Regions from separate parts of the Homo sapiens genome. Here regions 2, 3 and 4 are each linked to region 1. Evidence: promoter capture Hi-C in 16 types of primary human blood cells and fetal thymus (Javierre and others, 2016). All regions are on one chromosome and are shown on one strand. The core of a region is centred on a gene start or on the middle of the fragment in contact, and the rest is flanking DNA. Distances in the headings are between cores, read along the strand shown.

Region 1 (3,677 bases), core at 557-3,056:
TTGGCATTTCAGGAACCAGGCCATCACAGAAACAGGTTCATGGGCAGACCCCTCAGTGAGCTGCAGGTATCTCACCTGGCAGCCGTCCAGTACTGCTGGCTTCCTCTGGAGGCCCAGCCACAGGCTGGGGTTGGGGTGTGTGGACATCTCTGGGCAGCTCTTGAGTCCACCTTGTGCCAGATCAGCAGTGCCACCCAGGCTCTGCCTCCTGGTGTTACTCTTTGCCAACAGCTTTACGGACATTGGATGAAGCCGAAGCATTTAGAATGGTGCCTGGCACACAGTTGGTGCGTGATATGGTTAAGCTTTGTGTCCCCACCCACATCTCATCTTGAATGGTAATCCTGGGTGTTTAGGGAGAGACCTGGTGGGAAGTGATTGGATTATGGGAGCGGTTTTCCCCCATGCTGTTCTCATGATAGTGAGTGAGTTCTCACGAGATCTGATGGTTTTACAAGTGACGGTTTCCCCGGCTCCCTCCTGCCGCCATGTGAAGAAGGTCGTTGCTTCCCCTTCACCTTCCACCACCATGATTGTAAGTTCCTTTTTTCTTTTCTTTTCTTTTTTTTTTTTTTTTTTTTGAGATGGAGTCTCGCTCTGTCGCCCAGGCTGGAGTGCAGTGGCGCAATCTCAGCTCACTGCAAGCTCTGCCTCCCAGGTTCGCGCCATTCACCTGCCTCAGCCTCTGGAGTAGCTGAGACTACAGGCGCCCACCACCATGCCCGGCTAATTTTGTTTGTATTTTTAGTAGAGATGGAGTTTCACCATGTTGGCCAGGGTGGTCTCAATCTCCTGACCTCGTGATCCACCCACCTCGACCTCCCAAAGTGCTGAGATTACAGGCGTGAGCCACCGCGCCCAGCGATTGTTTCTTGAGGCTTCCCCAGCCATATGGAACTATAAGTCAATTAAACCTCTTTCCTTTTATAAATCACCCAGTCTCGGGTATTTCTTTATAGCAGTGTGAACATGGACTATAATCCAGTGCTCAATAAGTACTCCTCACATTTAGCTATCTCAGTCAAGGGTGAGCTAGATAAGGGCTTTGGCCAGGGCAGGATCACCACCCACCAGCCCATGGCAAACTGCAAAAGGACGGCCTTCCACGGAGAACATGTAGCCCTGACTGCAATTAATGTGTCCTGGGCCAGTCCCCTTGTGCAGTACACAGCCTGCACAACCCTTGGTGGTTGCCTGAACAAGGTGCTTGCTAAATATTTGTTGACTGATGGAAGAAATTCATGAACTTAATCCTGATAAAAAACCTCAGAGGTTTTTTATTTTTTGAGACAAGGTCTGGCTCTGTCGCCCAGGCTGCAGTGCAGTGGTACAGTCTCCACTCACTGCAGCCTCCCAGGTTCAAGCGATTCTCCCACCTCAGCCTCCGGAGGAGCTGGGATTATAGACCTGTGCCACCACGCCCGGCTAATTTTTGTATATTTAGTAGAGACAGGGTTTTTGCCATGTTGGCCAGGCTGGTCTCGAACTCCTGACCTCAAGCGATCCTCCCCACCTCGGCCTCCCAAAGTGCTGGGATCACAGGCGTTAGCCACCTCCTAGCACCTCAGGTTTTTTACCTTTGAGTCTATGAAGCCTGCGGAGGTCACGCCCTAGGGAAAGAAGGAGCCCACTGGGTGTCAGGTCCTGCCTCTAGGGAGGGGACCGCGGGTCAAGGGTGGAGCCCTGGGCCGCATAAGGAAGGAACTAGTGCGGAGGTCCGGGGAGCGGCCGCGCGTTCGGGAGCTTCGGCCCTGCGTAGGAGGCGGGTGCAGGTGTGGGTGCTGAGCCGCCCGCCGCCTGGAGGGGGAGACAGCTTCAGGACACGCAGGCCGCAGCGAGGGCCCGGGCCCTGGGGATCCCAGGTTCGTCTTCCCGCGGCGAGGGTTAGGGGCCGGGCCGAGAGGGACGGCAGCGGGGTCCGGGGCGGGGGTGGGGACCGAGCGCAGCGCGTGACGCGGCGGCGGGGCCCAGCGACAACGAAGCCGAGGCCGTAGGCTCGGGCCGACCTGGAGCTCCGCCGCTGCGCCCAGGTCGCGTCCCCGGGGGGACGGGCGGCGGGCGAGTGGGGAGCCGGGGTCTCCGGCGCCTGGGCGTTCACGGAGCCTGCGGGCGCTGGTCCGGGCGGCCAGGGGTGGGGGGCGCGGGCGGCTGGGCCCGGACTTCGACTGGGGGCCTGGCCCCGGGGCCACCCAGGCGGAGGCTCTGCGGCCGCCTCCACCCCGGCCACATCCCGAGGCCGGCGCCGGGTTCGGAGAACTGTCAAGGGACCTCCAGGCCCCCACACGCCTGCGAGATCCGGCGCTTGCCTTGCCCCAGCCACAGTTTCTGTTTCCGAGAAACCGGTGAAGTAACAATGCCACTAGAGCTTGCTGGGAGGGTGGGTGCGGAGAAGGCGAGCACGAGACGCCGGGCCGGGCAGTTGGGGACCCCGATCGGTGTGAGAGGGCTTCCTAGGGCTGGCATGGACTTCCCCACCACAAAATGCCCAGGGCCGGGGGGGGGAAGGGGCGCAAGAAAATGCGGACTGGGCCAGAGACCAGACTTCGGTCACCACGGTGGGAAGCTATTGGTGCCTAGATGCCTCTAGCTTGGAGCCCAGTGACTTTTATTTCGTCTAGAGTCTAGACAGTGCCTTTAGAAGCTGCCAGCATTTATTTATTTATTTATTTATGGCAGAGTCTTGCTCTGTCACCCAGGCTGGAGTGCAGTGGCATGATCACGGCTCACTGCAGCCTCGACTTCCTGGGCTCAAGCGTTCCTCCTGCCTCAGCCTCCTGCATAGCTGGGACTACAGGCACGGGCCACCAGGCCTAGCTAATTTCTTTTTTTTTTTTTTTTTTTTTTTTTTTGAGACGGAGTGTCGCTCTGTCGCCCAGGCTGGAGTGCAGTGGCGCGATCTCAGCTCACTGCAAGCTCCGCCTCCCGGGTTCAGGCCGTCCTCCTGCCTCAGCCTCCCGAGTAGCTGGGACTACAGGCACCTGCTTCTCGAGTAGCTGGGACTACAGGCACCTGCAACCAAGCCCGGCTAATTTTTTGTATTTTTAGTAGAGATGGAGTTTCACTGTGTTAGCCAGGACGGTCTCGATCTCCTAACCTCGTGATCCGCCCACCTCGGCCTCCCAAAGTGCTGGGATTACAGGCGTGAGCCACCGCGCCCGGCCTTTTTTTTTTTTTTTTTTTTTTTTGAGACAGATTCTCACTCTGTTGCCCAGGCTGGAGTGCAGTGGCACGATCTCGGCTCACTGCAACCTCCGCTTCCCGGGTTCAGGTGATTCTCCTGCCTCACCCTCCCGAGTAGCTGGGACTACAGGCGTCCGCCACCACGCCCAGCTAATTTTTGTATTTTTAGTAGAGACGGGGTTTCGCCATATTGGCCAGGCTGGTCTCGAACTCCTGATCTTGTGATCCGCCCGCCTCGGCCTACCGAAGTGCTGGGAATACAGGCCTGAGTCTGTGCACCCGACCTAATTTCTTTTTTTCTAGAGACAGAGTCTCACTATGTTGCCTAGACTACAAGCATTTTTAATTGACAACTTTTACATTTTTTTTCAAATGCTTACAGTTGCTTCTCAGAACTTAGAAGACTTGGCCACATTGGGTTTTTTTGTTATTTTTTTTTTCCATCAAAGCATTTTTCTTTTCTCTTTTTTTTTTTTTTTTTTTTTGAGACAGTTTTG
Region 2 (3,677 bases), core at 588-3,087, 420 kb before region 1:
ACGTATACTTTCCCTCAAACCATTTGCCCCCAAACTCAGTATGGGACAAAGAAACAAAAGTAGGAATTACCAATACGTGGAAAGAGTCTAGGAAGGATGAGCTGCTACAGAATCAGCTACCCTGTCTTTAGCACCCCAGCAAGATCCAGGAATCCTAGATACCTTCATTCCTTTCCCAAAGTTTCCAGCATCTCTCACTATCTTGGCAAGAGCCGTTGTAATTTCTTACCTTCAAATTCAAAGCTGCCAAGCGTTCGGAGGGCAAGAGTGATGCTGCCCACATCGCTGGCCTCAGGGAGGGTCGTGAGGCCAGGAGAGGCCAGCTGATGGGCCAGGCCCTTGGGCATGCCTGGGTGGCGAAGGGGTTTGTGCATAAGGACCAGGGACAGCATTTTCAGTAGCCCATCTTGAATGTCCTTCTTTAGCTGTGGAATCTGACGGCTCAGGTCGTAGAGCACTGCAGTGAGGGCAGGGCTGAGGGGAAGGAAACAAGTCACATAAGGGCTGGGCACATGACACTCAGTCTGTTCTTGGGAAGAAACAGCTTTCTCTCCCAGCAAGGGGATCAGGCCTCTGTTCTTCAGAGTAGAAAGGATATTATAAAATAAGAATAAAAGTGTAAACTCTCTTGGCTTAGTCTCAGGTCTCCAAACAATCTATGAGTTTCTGGTTCTTGCCACAGAAGACTTGCTCACTATAATTCAGCCACTACAGAAGACCAAGTCTCAACAAACACTCTGGGAAGCAGATTAAGAACACTGTCCTTATTTTACAGATGAAGAGAACTTAGTTTAGGAAGCTTAAGCAACTTGCTCAATAATAATATACACAATATTTGCAAATATTTATTGAGTACTTCCTATATGCCAGGCATGGTGCTAAGAGTGACTATACCATGAACCCACAGCAACCCTAGGCAATAAGAATTACTATTGCACCCACTTTTCAGATTAAAAAAAAAAAATGAGGCCAGGCGCGGTGGCTCACACCTGTAATCTCAGCACTTTGGGAGCCGAGGTGGGCGGATCACAAGGTCAGGAGATCGAGACCATCCTGGCTAACACACTGAAACCCCAACTCTACTAAAAATACAAAGAATTAGCCAGGCGTGGTGGCAGGCGCCTGTAGTCCCAGCTACTCAGGAGGCTGAGGCAGGAGAATGGCGTGAACCCGGGAGGCGGAGCTTGCAGTGAGCCAAGACTGGGCCACTGCACTCCAGCCTGGGCGACAGAGCGAGACCCCTTCTCAAAAAAAAAAAAAAAAAAAAATGAGGCTCGGGGAAATTAAATAACTTAGTCAAGATCATATAGAAAGCTAGTGATGAAACTAGGATTCAGTACTAGCCTGTGTGTTTAGTCTAAGCTATCCTGTCCATCCAGTTGAATGTGCAAACAACCATGCCTCATTCTTTTAACAGTCCCAACACTGGGGGCCAAGCCTCACGCTGATACAGGGCAAGCTCAGGTTTCTGACACCCACCTTAGTCCCACTGCCAGCATGGGCTCCAGCAGCTCCTTGATATCCTGCTGGATGCCTGGCCCCATTGCTCGAGCCAGCATGCTGATGCAAGTGAAGACTGTGGCATCCACCTGCATTGCCTTCTGCCTCCTGTAGAGAAATGGAGAGTGGCTAGTTGAGACATAATGACATTCTTTAATGTCCCACCTCAAAATCACCTTGGGGCAAGGAGAGCAGGTTACTCAGGCAGGGCTACCACAGATGGGTATGCAAATTGTCCAGAGCACAGTTCAAAGGGACCCATCACATCACAATTACTGTAGATTTGTACATTTCTACAACAATCCAGCAGATGGCAGTAAAGTGTCTTAAGGAAGGGGCCTTTTTTCTGAATTCACACAGCTATACCATATGGGTTATTGTGGTGCTCACCAAGATAATTATGTAGGAAGAGAGCTGAACAATGTGTTCATCAGGGACAAGAAGGCAGTACACAGCCATCATATGGAAAGAAATTCTTCTATGATGAGAATGCTGGGCTTTAGAATGGGGCCAGGCGCAGCGACTCACGCCTGTAATCCCAGCACTCTGGGAGGCGGAGGTGGGTGGATCACCTGAGGTCAGGAGTTCGAGACCAGCCTGGCCAACATGGTGAAACCCCGCCTCTACTAAAAATACAAAAATTAGCTGGGCGTGCTGGCACACGCCTGTAGTCCCAGCTACTTGGGAGGCTAAGGTGGGTGGATCACTTGAGGCCAGGAGTTCGAGACCAGCCCGGCCAAAATGGTGAAAACCTGTGTCTACAAAAAAATACAATTATTAGCTTGGCATAGTGGCACATGCCTGTAATCCCAGCTACTCAGGAGGCTGAGGCAGGAGAATCGCTTGAACCTGAGAGGAGGAGGTTGCAGTGACCCAAGACCGTGCCACTGCACTCCGGCCTGGGCAACCAAAGTAAGACTCCATCTCAAAAAAAAAAAAAAAAAAAAAAAAAGAATGAGTGGGGCGTATTAATTCACCACAGCAATCTTCGCTAATAAACAGGGAAGTATAAAGACAACCTGAGACAAAGGATGATGAACACTGACCCCCTCGCCTTAGCGAAGACACCCCAGTCTCTCCATCTGGCAGGATGCTGAGGGGTTTTCTCATATTTTATTCGCCAGGAGGTTTAAAGAGGTGGAATAACTTATTCAACTTCAGCGATGAGGAAAAAGATGACCCTTAGGTCCCTTCAGTTCCAGTCAAGGATTCCTCTCTTTAGGTCTTATATCAAAATAAGACTTTTAAAAGCCAGAGAAAAAAGCAAAACTAGCAGATTCCCAGTAAATAATAACACTGAAAATAGCATTGGCATCTCACATGTTCTCAGGGTATTCAACCTCCCCAAATATTTCATATATGTTATTTCATTTGGAAAAGCTTAGAATTCAACTAAGGAAGGGCTGTTCTTCATATGATTTGCTATACCCTGGAGTTTAATGATGCAAAAAATGGGCGTAAGCTCCGTGGATCTGAAATAGAGCGTCCTTCCTCTCCAACCAAATGGAGTGGAAGGTGAAATCATAACAGAGGTGCTTACTTATGGGCGAAGTCCTTTGGGGGCAGGGCCGCTCGGATGATGTCCAGCACGCGAGGCAAATAGACCTTAAACTCAGACCTCACAGCCACAGAAAGTAGCCCCAGGGCTTGGAAGGCCGCTGTACGTTCCTTCTCCTTCTTGACACAGCTTAGGACATGGTTCATGGTATCTTGGAGATACTGGGTATCTGAGCACAGAAAAGACAAAGTAGATAGCTCCAGGTCAGGGTTAGGGTCTACATATCAACAGTCAAAGGTCCTATAAAGCAATTCAGTTTAAGAATAAATTAAGAAAGTGGCCAGGCACAGTGGCTCACACCTGTAATCCCAACACTTTGGGAGGCCAAGGAGAGAGGAGTGTTTGAGGCCAGGAGTTCGAAACAGCCTGGGCAACACAGTGAGACCCTGTCTCTACAAAAATAAAAATTAGCCAGGTGTGGTGGTGCATGCCTGTAATCCCAGCTACTCGGGAGGCTGAGGCAGGAGGATCACTTGAGCCCAGATGGTTGAGGCTGCAGAAAGGTGTGATCGTGTGCAGCACTGCACTCAAGCCTGAGTGACAAAGAGCCTGTCTCAAAAAAAAAAAAAAACCCAAAAAACGTAAAAGGTTGCCAAAACAATATCACAGAATTGTCTCC
Region 3 (3,677 bases), core at 561-3,060, 380 kb before region 1:
TACATTCTTTGCCCACCTTTTGCCCTCCCCCCAGTTCTCTGACCCACCCTCCTCCTTTCTTCCTGCTCATCCTGGGCCAGCCACACTGCCCTTTCTAGTCCAGGAGCATGCACAACCCCTCCTGCCCCTCCCTCAGGTCCTTTGTAGATGCAGCTTCCTCTGTTTGAAATGCTTTTCCTGCTTCTAACCATGTGGTTCACTTTCTCACTTCCTTCACCTATTTGCCCAAATGTCAGCTGCTCAGTGAGGCCTTGCTTTCTACCTTGCTTAAAATTACACACCCACTCCGTGCCCCCACCTGATACTTCCCCTGCTGCTCTTCTCTGCATTAGTTTTCCTCATAGCACATGTTACCTTCTAATGTGCCATATAAAGTACTTAATTGGTTAATTATCTTCCCCCTTCGACTGCGAGCTCCCTCCCTGCAGTCAGGGATTTCTGTCTCTGGTATTAGCTGAACCCCTAGCACCCAGAGCACTGCCTGGCATGTAATATTACTTAGTAAATATCCAGTGAACAAATGGGAAGGCATTGAAATATACTGAGCAGAGTAGTGACATAATCTGGTTTAAGATTTTTTAAACATTGTCTTTTATTGACATATAATTGACACACAGTGAAATGCACAGGTTTTTAGTGTTGCAGCTTGATGAATTTTGATAAATGTATACAGTTGCATAACCCACACCCCGTCATCATCCAGAACACTTCCATCACCCCCAAAAGCTTCCCAGTGCTTCTTGCCTGTCAATCCCACACTCCCTGCCCCCATCCAGAGACAGGAAAAGAACCACTGTTCTGATTCCTCTCACAGAGATTAGTTTTGCCTGTCATATAAATGGAACCTTTCACTATGAACTATGTATGTATGTATGTATGTGTATTTATTTCAGTCTGAGCTCTCGTCTGGCTTCTTTTGCTCAGCGTGATGTTTTTGAGATTCATTGTTTTATTGCGTGTATCAGTAGTTCCTTTTTTTGCTGACTAGCATTCCATTGTAACATACCACAACTTCTTTTTATCCATTCTCCTTTTCAGGGACATTTGGATTGCTTCCATATTTTGGCTATTACGTCTGAACATTCATGTTCAAGTCTTTTTGTGGATATTTGTTTTCATTTTTCTTGGGTAAATGCCCAGGAGTAGAATTGCTGGGTCACAGGGCAGATGATGTTTAATTTTATGAGAAACTGCCAAACTGTTTTCTGAAGTGGTTGTACTTCTTTACACTCCCCCCAGCAAGTGTTCCAGTTGCTCTGCGTCTTGCCAACTTTTTGACTTAAGTCTTAACAGATTCATTCTGGCTGCCGTGTGGAGAACCGGCCCAGTATTTCACTGTGTAAGCTCATTCAGAAAATGGGGTTGGGAGAGGAGGAATGCCTAAAAGGAAATTCCCAGATGGGCCACGTCTCTGAATCAGGTAGAGCACATGAAGCCTTGGGCCATGTATCAAATGCTAGGAAACAGCTTTCTCCCCAAGGGCTCTACTGTTTTCTTGTGTCAGATAACCAGATCTTTTTCCTCCCCAGAGTGGGTTGCTCTTGGTTTTGGGGTGGGGACAGAGATCTCTGCTCAACCTTGCTTACATCACTTTTTTTTTTTTTTTTTTTCAAAAGACAGAGTTTAGCTCTTGTTGACCAGGCTGGAGTACAATGGTGCGACCTCTGCTCACTGCAACCTCTGCCTCCTGGTTCAAGCGATTCTCCTGCCTCAGCCTCCCGAGTAGCTGGGATTACAGGCGTGCACCACCATGCCCGGCTAATTTTTTTTTGTATTTTTAGTAGAGATGGGGTTTCTCCGTGTTGGTCAGGCTGGTCTTGACTTCCTGACCTCAGTTGATCCACCCGCTGTGGCCTCCCAAAGTGCTGGAATTACAGCGTGAGCCACTGTGCCTGGCCTTTTTTTTTCTTGAGACGGAGTTTTGCTCTTGTTGCCCAGGCTGGAGTGCAATGGCACGATCTCGGCTCACCACATCCTCTGCCTCCAGGGTTCAAGCGGTTCTTCTGCCTCAGCCTCCCGAGTAGCTGGGATTACAGACATGCGCCACTACACCCGGCTAATTTTTTGTATTTTTAGTGGAGATGGGGTTTCTCCATGTTGGTCAGGCTGGTCTCGAACCCCTGACCTCAGGTGATCCACCTGCTTCAGCCTCCCAAAGTGCTGGGATTACAGGCGTGAGCCACCATACCTGGCCGCTTACATTGCTTTTTGCCGAGTGATCTAAGGAGGTGTTCTTGGAGACTCCAGCCAAAGGTCAAGGCTGTAGTGCTGTTGCATTTTCTTTCACAGCCAGACCAGTGGCGTCACTTGGGGAGCTGAGAAAACAAGCACAGCAAGAGTGGGCAGCTGTAGAGGAACTGGCTAGGTCTGTGCTGGGAGTATTCCTGCCCAGCATCATCTTTGCGTGGGTGTAGTCCCTTAAATGTGTGAGATATTGGAAGAGACGTCAATTTACTAATTCTGAACTGGAGCTCGTGCTCTGCTTGAGGGAACTTCCTCCTGGAGGGCATGTCCTCATACAACCAAATTATTTATGAAAACATGGCTTGGTATAAAAATTATCCAAATAGAAGGAAAAAAAATATGGCTTGAGGGTGCAGAATTAGCTTGCTGAATGTTGAAGAGTGTCAGTGGCCATGCCTTAATGCCCTTCCCTGGAGATACTTTGTTCTGAAGAACTAAGGGTGTGTATTTAGCACCAAGGGACCCCAGCTGCTGATGTGAAGGTGAACTTGGACTGGATCTTGTTCCTTAGCTCCTGTCATTTTATTTCATTTTGATTCCTGTGGCTAGTGGGAACTTCTGTCATTTTAGACTGGTTAAAATGCCTAACCAGAGCTTTATTTTCTGATCTTGAGTCCACATCTTGTAGCTTGGTTAGAACTGGAGTTTGCTAAGCTTCTGTAGCAATAATTGCATGGGTCACCTCCCTCAGTGGGCAGCTCCACTCATTCCATACTGCTTTACCTGTTTCAGTCTGAGTGGGAGATCTTTCCTGACCTTGATCCCAAATTCCAGGTGCTTGTTACTGTAGCTCTGTCTTCAGTTCAGCCCTTGTGCCAAGTATTGGGGAGTGAGCTGTGACCAAGCCAGACACATGTCCTGCCCTCATGGAACTTACAGTTTAGTGAGAAAGGTGGAGATTAATTAGAAGCATGATGAAGTTTATGAACATGGCAGGCATATTGCCATGGGAGCATATTGCAAGGGGATCAAATGTGGCTTAGGGGTGAGAGGAGGTGGTCCTGGGGAATGGTCTTTAAAGTCTTAAAGGGTGAGTAGAGTTAGCCAGGCCAAGGGAGGGGTGTCTGAAGGCTCTGACGGATTGGAAGAAGTCTGTGTGAAGAGGGGAGGAGAGCTCAAGGTGAGGCAGGAGAGGTAGGGCTGGGCCACAGGTGAGCCAGGTTAAAGATCTGGGACTTTTATCCCCAGGATGAGTGGTTGATAAGGGTTTAAGTGTATGTTGGGGGAGGGGGTGGTCAGATTCCTTTATTTATTTATTTACTAATTTTTTTGAGACAGAGTCTTGCTCTGTCTGCCAGGCTGGAGTGCAGTAGCATGATCTTGGCTTACTGCAACCTCTGCCTCCAAGGCTCAAGCATTTTCCCTGCCTCAGCCTCCCGAGTAGCTGGGATTACAGGCGTGTGCCACACGCTTGGCTAATTTTTGTATTTTTA
Region 4 (3,677 bases), core at 1,034-3,533, 260 kb after region 1:
CACACACAACTTTGTTTCTGTGAAGATGACCATCCTCTCGCCGGGCGCGGTGGCTCACGCCTGTAATCCCAGCACTTTGGGAGGCCAAGGTGGACGGATCATGAGGTCAGGTTAAGTTTTGTATTTTTAGTAGAGACAAGGTTTCGCCACGTTGGCCAGGTTGGCTTGAACTCCTGACCTCAGGTGATCCACCTGCCTCAGCCTCCCAAAGTGCTGGGATTACAGCGTGAGCCACCGCGCCCAGCCAGCACATTCTAGCCTAAAAAGATGCCTTATTTTAATTTTAATTTTCACTTTTCTAATGTCTGTCTTCCTCCCAACCAGAATTTAAGCAAGCACCATGAGAACAGGAACTCTGGTTCCCATCTGCACCCCCCCATGCATAGAACAGCCCTGGCAGAAGCATTCAATAGATACTTGCTGAATGAACTCAACTCTCTGAGCAACCAAACACAAAGGTTCAGACAATTGGAACCCTGGAAACCAAAACCCCTCTCTCATCCAGAACAGGATTTTCTTTTCTTTAACAGTCAACGAGAGGAGAGTTTTCATCGGGCGGGAGCATCTCAACCTGCTAAAAGGGATTCTCCAACCTCCCTGTGAACCAGTTGCAGCCACAACTGCCAGGACGCACCTCAGCCTAGCAGGGGTTATGTCAAGAAGCCCACGTCTGTCACCAGGCCGACTGCGGTGCTGAGCAAAGAATCAGGGGATCCACCTGCTGGTTTCACCTCTGCAAACTGACTCTAAAACACTTCACTCTGCTCACATCAGGCCCCATCTACCAAAACAAGTAACAGAAAGAATTGACCTTTACACTCAATTGTCCACTACAGTCTCATAAAAACCTTCTGAGGTAGGCGTTATTGTTATTAAATACAGGCCCAGAGAGATTAGGCGACGAATCCAAAGGTCGCACAGACACTAAGCAGTTGAGCAGATTCAACCACTGGTGAAACGCCAAGCCCAAGTTTCAACCACCCCACCATCACCTTCAGTGTCACCTCTGCAGACTTGGGAGGGACATATCTAGGGTGGACCAAGCGCTGGCCAGGACTCACCTGGGCTGAAGAGCTGAGCCCAGAGGAGCTGGTGGTCTTGAAGCAGCTCCGCCGCTGGCATGTCCAAGAGCTCCAGCATTTCCTTCCGTGCCAAGTCCTGCAGCGCCTTGAGCTCCTTGGCTGCTTTGCTTTTGAGCACCTGGGGGTTAATGGGGCCAGAGACGTGCACCACCCACAGCACCGTCTCATCCAGCTGCGTCTTGGGAGCCACTTGGAGGCGGTTCACCAGCTTCTTGGCGGCCACCACCACCAGGTGCACCAACCCAGTGGGCGTAGGCGGGGACCGGCCTGAGTAGAGGAGGAACTGATGGTCTCCGACCTTCTCCAGGGTACTGGTGAAGGCCTTGGGGGCTGGGCCGGCAGTGGGCCCCACAGTCTGCAGCGCGGCCACGCGCTCCGTGGGGTTGTTGAGCTGGATGCGCTGCAGGTAGACGTGGGGTCGGCCCCTGTGCGCCAGAAAGTCCTCTTGCAGCAGCACGCAGTCGCGGCCGGACCCCGCGGCAAGGCCAGAGACGGAGGCGGGCCCGGGGCCGGCGGCCACGGGGCCAGGACCTGGGGACCCCAGCTGCAGGCAACGCACGCGGCGCAGAAGCCCCTCCCGCAGCAGCAGCACCGCCTCTCCAGCTTCAGCCAGCGCGCTCAGCGGGCGCAGCTGCACGAAGGGCACAAAGTCCGGCGCCACGGCGGGCTCCCGCTCCCCGGGAGTCACCCACAGCCGATTGGCAGCCACGTCCAGGGCCAGGAAGCCGTTGGCCACCAGGGCCGGCACTCCAGGACCCAGCGGTACCACCTCACCGCGCTCCCGCAGGCCGCGCCAGGCGCGGGTGGCCGCCTCCAGGCAGGCAGACGGCTCGGCGGCGCCCGGCTCACCGCGGGACCAGGGCAGCAGGTGCAGGCCGCCCGCCGCCCGCCGCGCGCCGGACCCCCCAAACCACAGAAGCAGCAGCAGGAGGCCAAGCAGGCAGAGGAGGCGGCGGGCCCAGCTGCTCGACAGCAGTCCCGGCAGCCCCTTGAGCCGCTGCTGCAGCCACATCGGGCCGCCAGGCGCGGGCAAGGGTGCGAGGGCGGCCGCCGGGCCCGCCGCCCAGCCCACCGGCCCGGCCGCCCGCGCCTCACTGCCCGGCCCGGACCGCGGCGCCCACCCCGGCCCCCGCCGCAACCGCCGCAGCAGCCGCCACCCCTGCTTCCTCCTTCTTCTCGGTGGCCTCCAGCCGTCAAACGACGCCGGCGGTCAAGCGTCGCCGTGTCTTTTACGACAGATGGAAAACGGGAGGGCGGAGGGAGGAGAGAGAGCAGGCCGGAGAGAAGGGGGCGGAGCCACGGCGAGGGCGGGACAAAAGCTGCCGGGGGCGGGACCACTCGTTCCCAGGCCGGAAGAGTGAAGTCCAGTGGAGTTAAGTGCAGGGGTCTGGGGAGGACTGGAAGCATCCAATTCACTCGTGAAAAAAACATCGAGCCAGCCAAACCGAACACGTGTTGGGCCCCTTTGCTACTGATGGATTCAACAGCCCCAAAATTTAAAAACATACACACACACACACACAACAACTTTGTTTCTGTAAAAATGACCATCCTCTCGCCGCGCGCGGTGGCTCACGCCTGTAATCCCAGCACTTTGGGAGGCCAAGGCGGGCGGATCACGAGGTCAGCAGTTTGAGACCAGCCTGACCAACATGGTGAAACCCCATCTCTACTAAAAATACAAAAACTAGCCGGGCGTGGTGGCGCATGCCTGTAATCCCTGCTCCTCAGGAGGCTGAGGTAGGAGAACTGCTTGAACCCGTGAGGCGGAGGTTGCAGGCTTGCAGTGAGCCGAGATCACGCCACTGCACTCCAGCCTGGGCGACAGAGTGAGACTCTGTCTCAAAAAAAAAAAAAAAAAAAAAGACTATCCTCACTGCAAAAAAACACTTGGAACAATACGAAAAAGTGGAGGAAAAAAAAAGGAGAGAGAAGAAGAGGAAGAAAGAAGAAGAAAGGAAAAGGGAGGAGGAGGGGAAGGGGAACCACCAGAGGCCAGGAGTGGTGGCTCACGTCTGTAATTCCAGCACTTTAGGAGGCTGAGATGGGCAAATCACTTGAGGTCAGGAGTTCGAAACCAGCCTGACCAACATGGTGAAAACCTGTCTCTACTAAAAATACAAAAATTAGGCTGGGCACGGTGGCTCACGCCTGTAATCCCAGCATTTTGGGAGGCCGAGGCCGCCAGATCACGAGATCAGGAGATCGAGACCATCCTGGCTAACACGGTGAAACCCTGTCTCTACTAAAAATATAAAAAATTAGCCAGGCGTGGTGGCAGGCGCCTGTAGTCCCAGCTACTCGGGAGGCTGAGGCAGGAGAATGGCGTGAACCCGGGAGGCGGTGCTTGCAGTGAGCCAAGATCGCGCCACTGCACTCCAGCCTGGGTGACAGAGGGAGACTCTGTCTCAAAAAAAAAAAAATAAATAAATAAAAATAAAAAAATAAAAATGCAAAAATTAGCTGGGCGTGGTGGTGGGCGCCTGTAATCCCAGCTACTTGAGAGACTGAGGCACGAGAATCGCTTGAACCAGGGAGGCAGAGGTTGCAGTGAGCCGAGATCGCGCCACTGCACTCCAGCCTGGGCAACAGAGC

Evidence for each region. Contacts are between HindIII fragments. The CHiCAGO score rates a contact against its expected background, and 5 or more counts as called.
Region 2: a contact is called between a fragment that was not itself captured here and the fragment with the promoter of FBXO6 in region 1, in 5 of 17 cell types (non-activated CD4 T cells, naive CD4 T cells, fetal thymus and 2 more). The highest score is 7.8, in non-activated CD4 T cells.
Region 3: a contact is called between a fragment that was not itself captured here and the fragment with the promoter of FBXO6 in region 1, in 2 of 17 cell types (M2 macrophages and endothelial precursors). The highest score is 7.2, in M2 macrophages.
Region 4: a contact is called between the fragment with the promoter of KIAA2013 here and the fragment with the promoter of FBXO6 in region 1, in 1 of 17 cell types (neutrophils). The highest score is 8.4, in neutrophils.

The regions. Positions count from the first base shown.
Region 1 is chr1:11,662,394-11,666,070 of GRCh38, forward strand. FBXO6 (F-box protein 6) reads left to right here and starts at 1,807. Exons shown (of 6, transcript NM_018438.6): 1 at 1,807-1,862. FBXO44 (F-box protein 44) reads left to right here. Exons shown (of 6, transcript NM_033182.7): 6 at 1-934. RefSeq lists silencers at 1,873-2,092, 2,143-2,212 and an enhancer at 2,333-2,382. The HindIII fragment of the contact is 5,022 bases long and covers 304-3,677 here.
Region 2 is chr1:11,240,074-11,243,750 of GRCh38, forward strand. It overlaps MTOR (mechanistic target of rapamycin kinase), which reads right to left. Exons shown (of 58, transcript NM_004958.4): 9 at 3,041-3,227; 10 at 1,480-1,608; 11 at 230-474. Among named protein-coding and RNA genes, the nearest start is that of MTOR, 21 kb to the right of the region's middle. RefSeq lists an enhancer at 1,475-2,034. The HindIII fragment of the contact is 2,081 bases long and covers 798-2,878 here.
Region 3 is chr1:11,280,968-11,284,644 of GRCh38, forward strand. The region is part of intron 1 of UBIAD1 (UbiA prenyltransferase domain containing 1); the gene reads left to right. Among named protein-coding and RNA genes, the nearest start is that of UBIAD1, 9.6 kb to the left of the region's middle. The HindIII fragment of the contact is 2,172 bases long and covers 725-2,896 here.
Region 4 is chr1:11,924,144-11,927,820 of GRCh38, forward strand. It overlaps KIAA2013, which reads right to left and starts at 2,284. Exons shown (of 3, transcript NM_138346.3): 1 at 1,062-2,284. The coding sequence starts at 2,094. RefSeq lists enhancers at 1,228-1,890, 1,891-2,554, 2,209-2,503 and a silencer at 2,139-2,208. The HindIII fragment of the contact is 9,969 bases long and covers 1-3,677 here.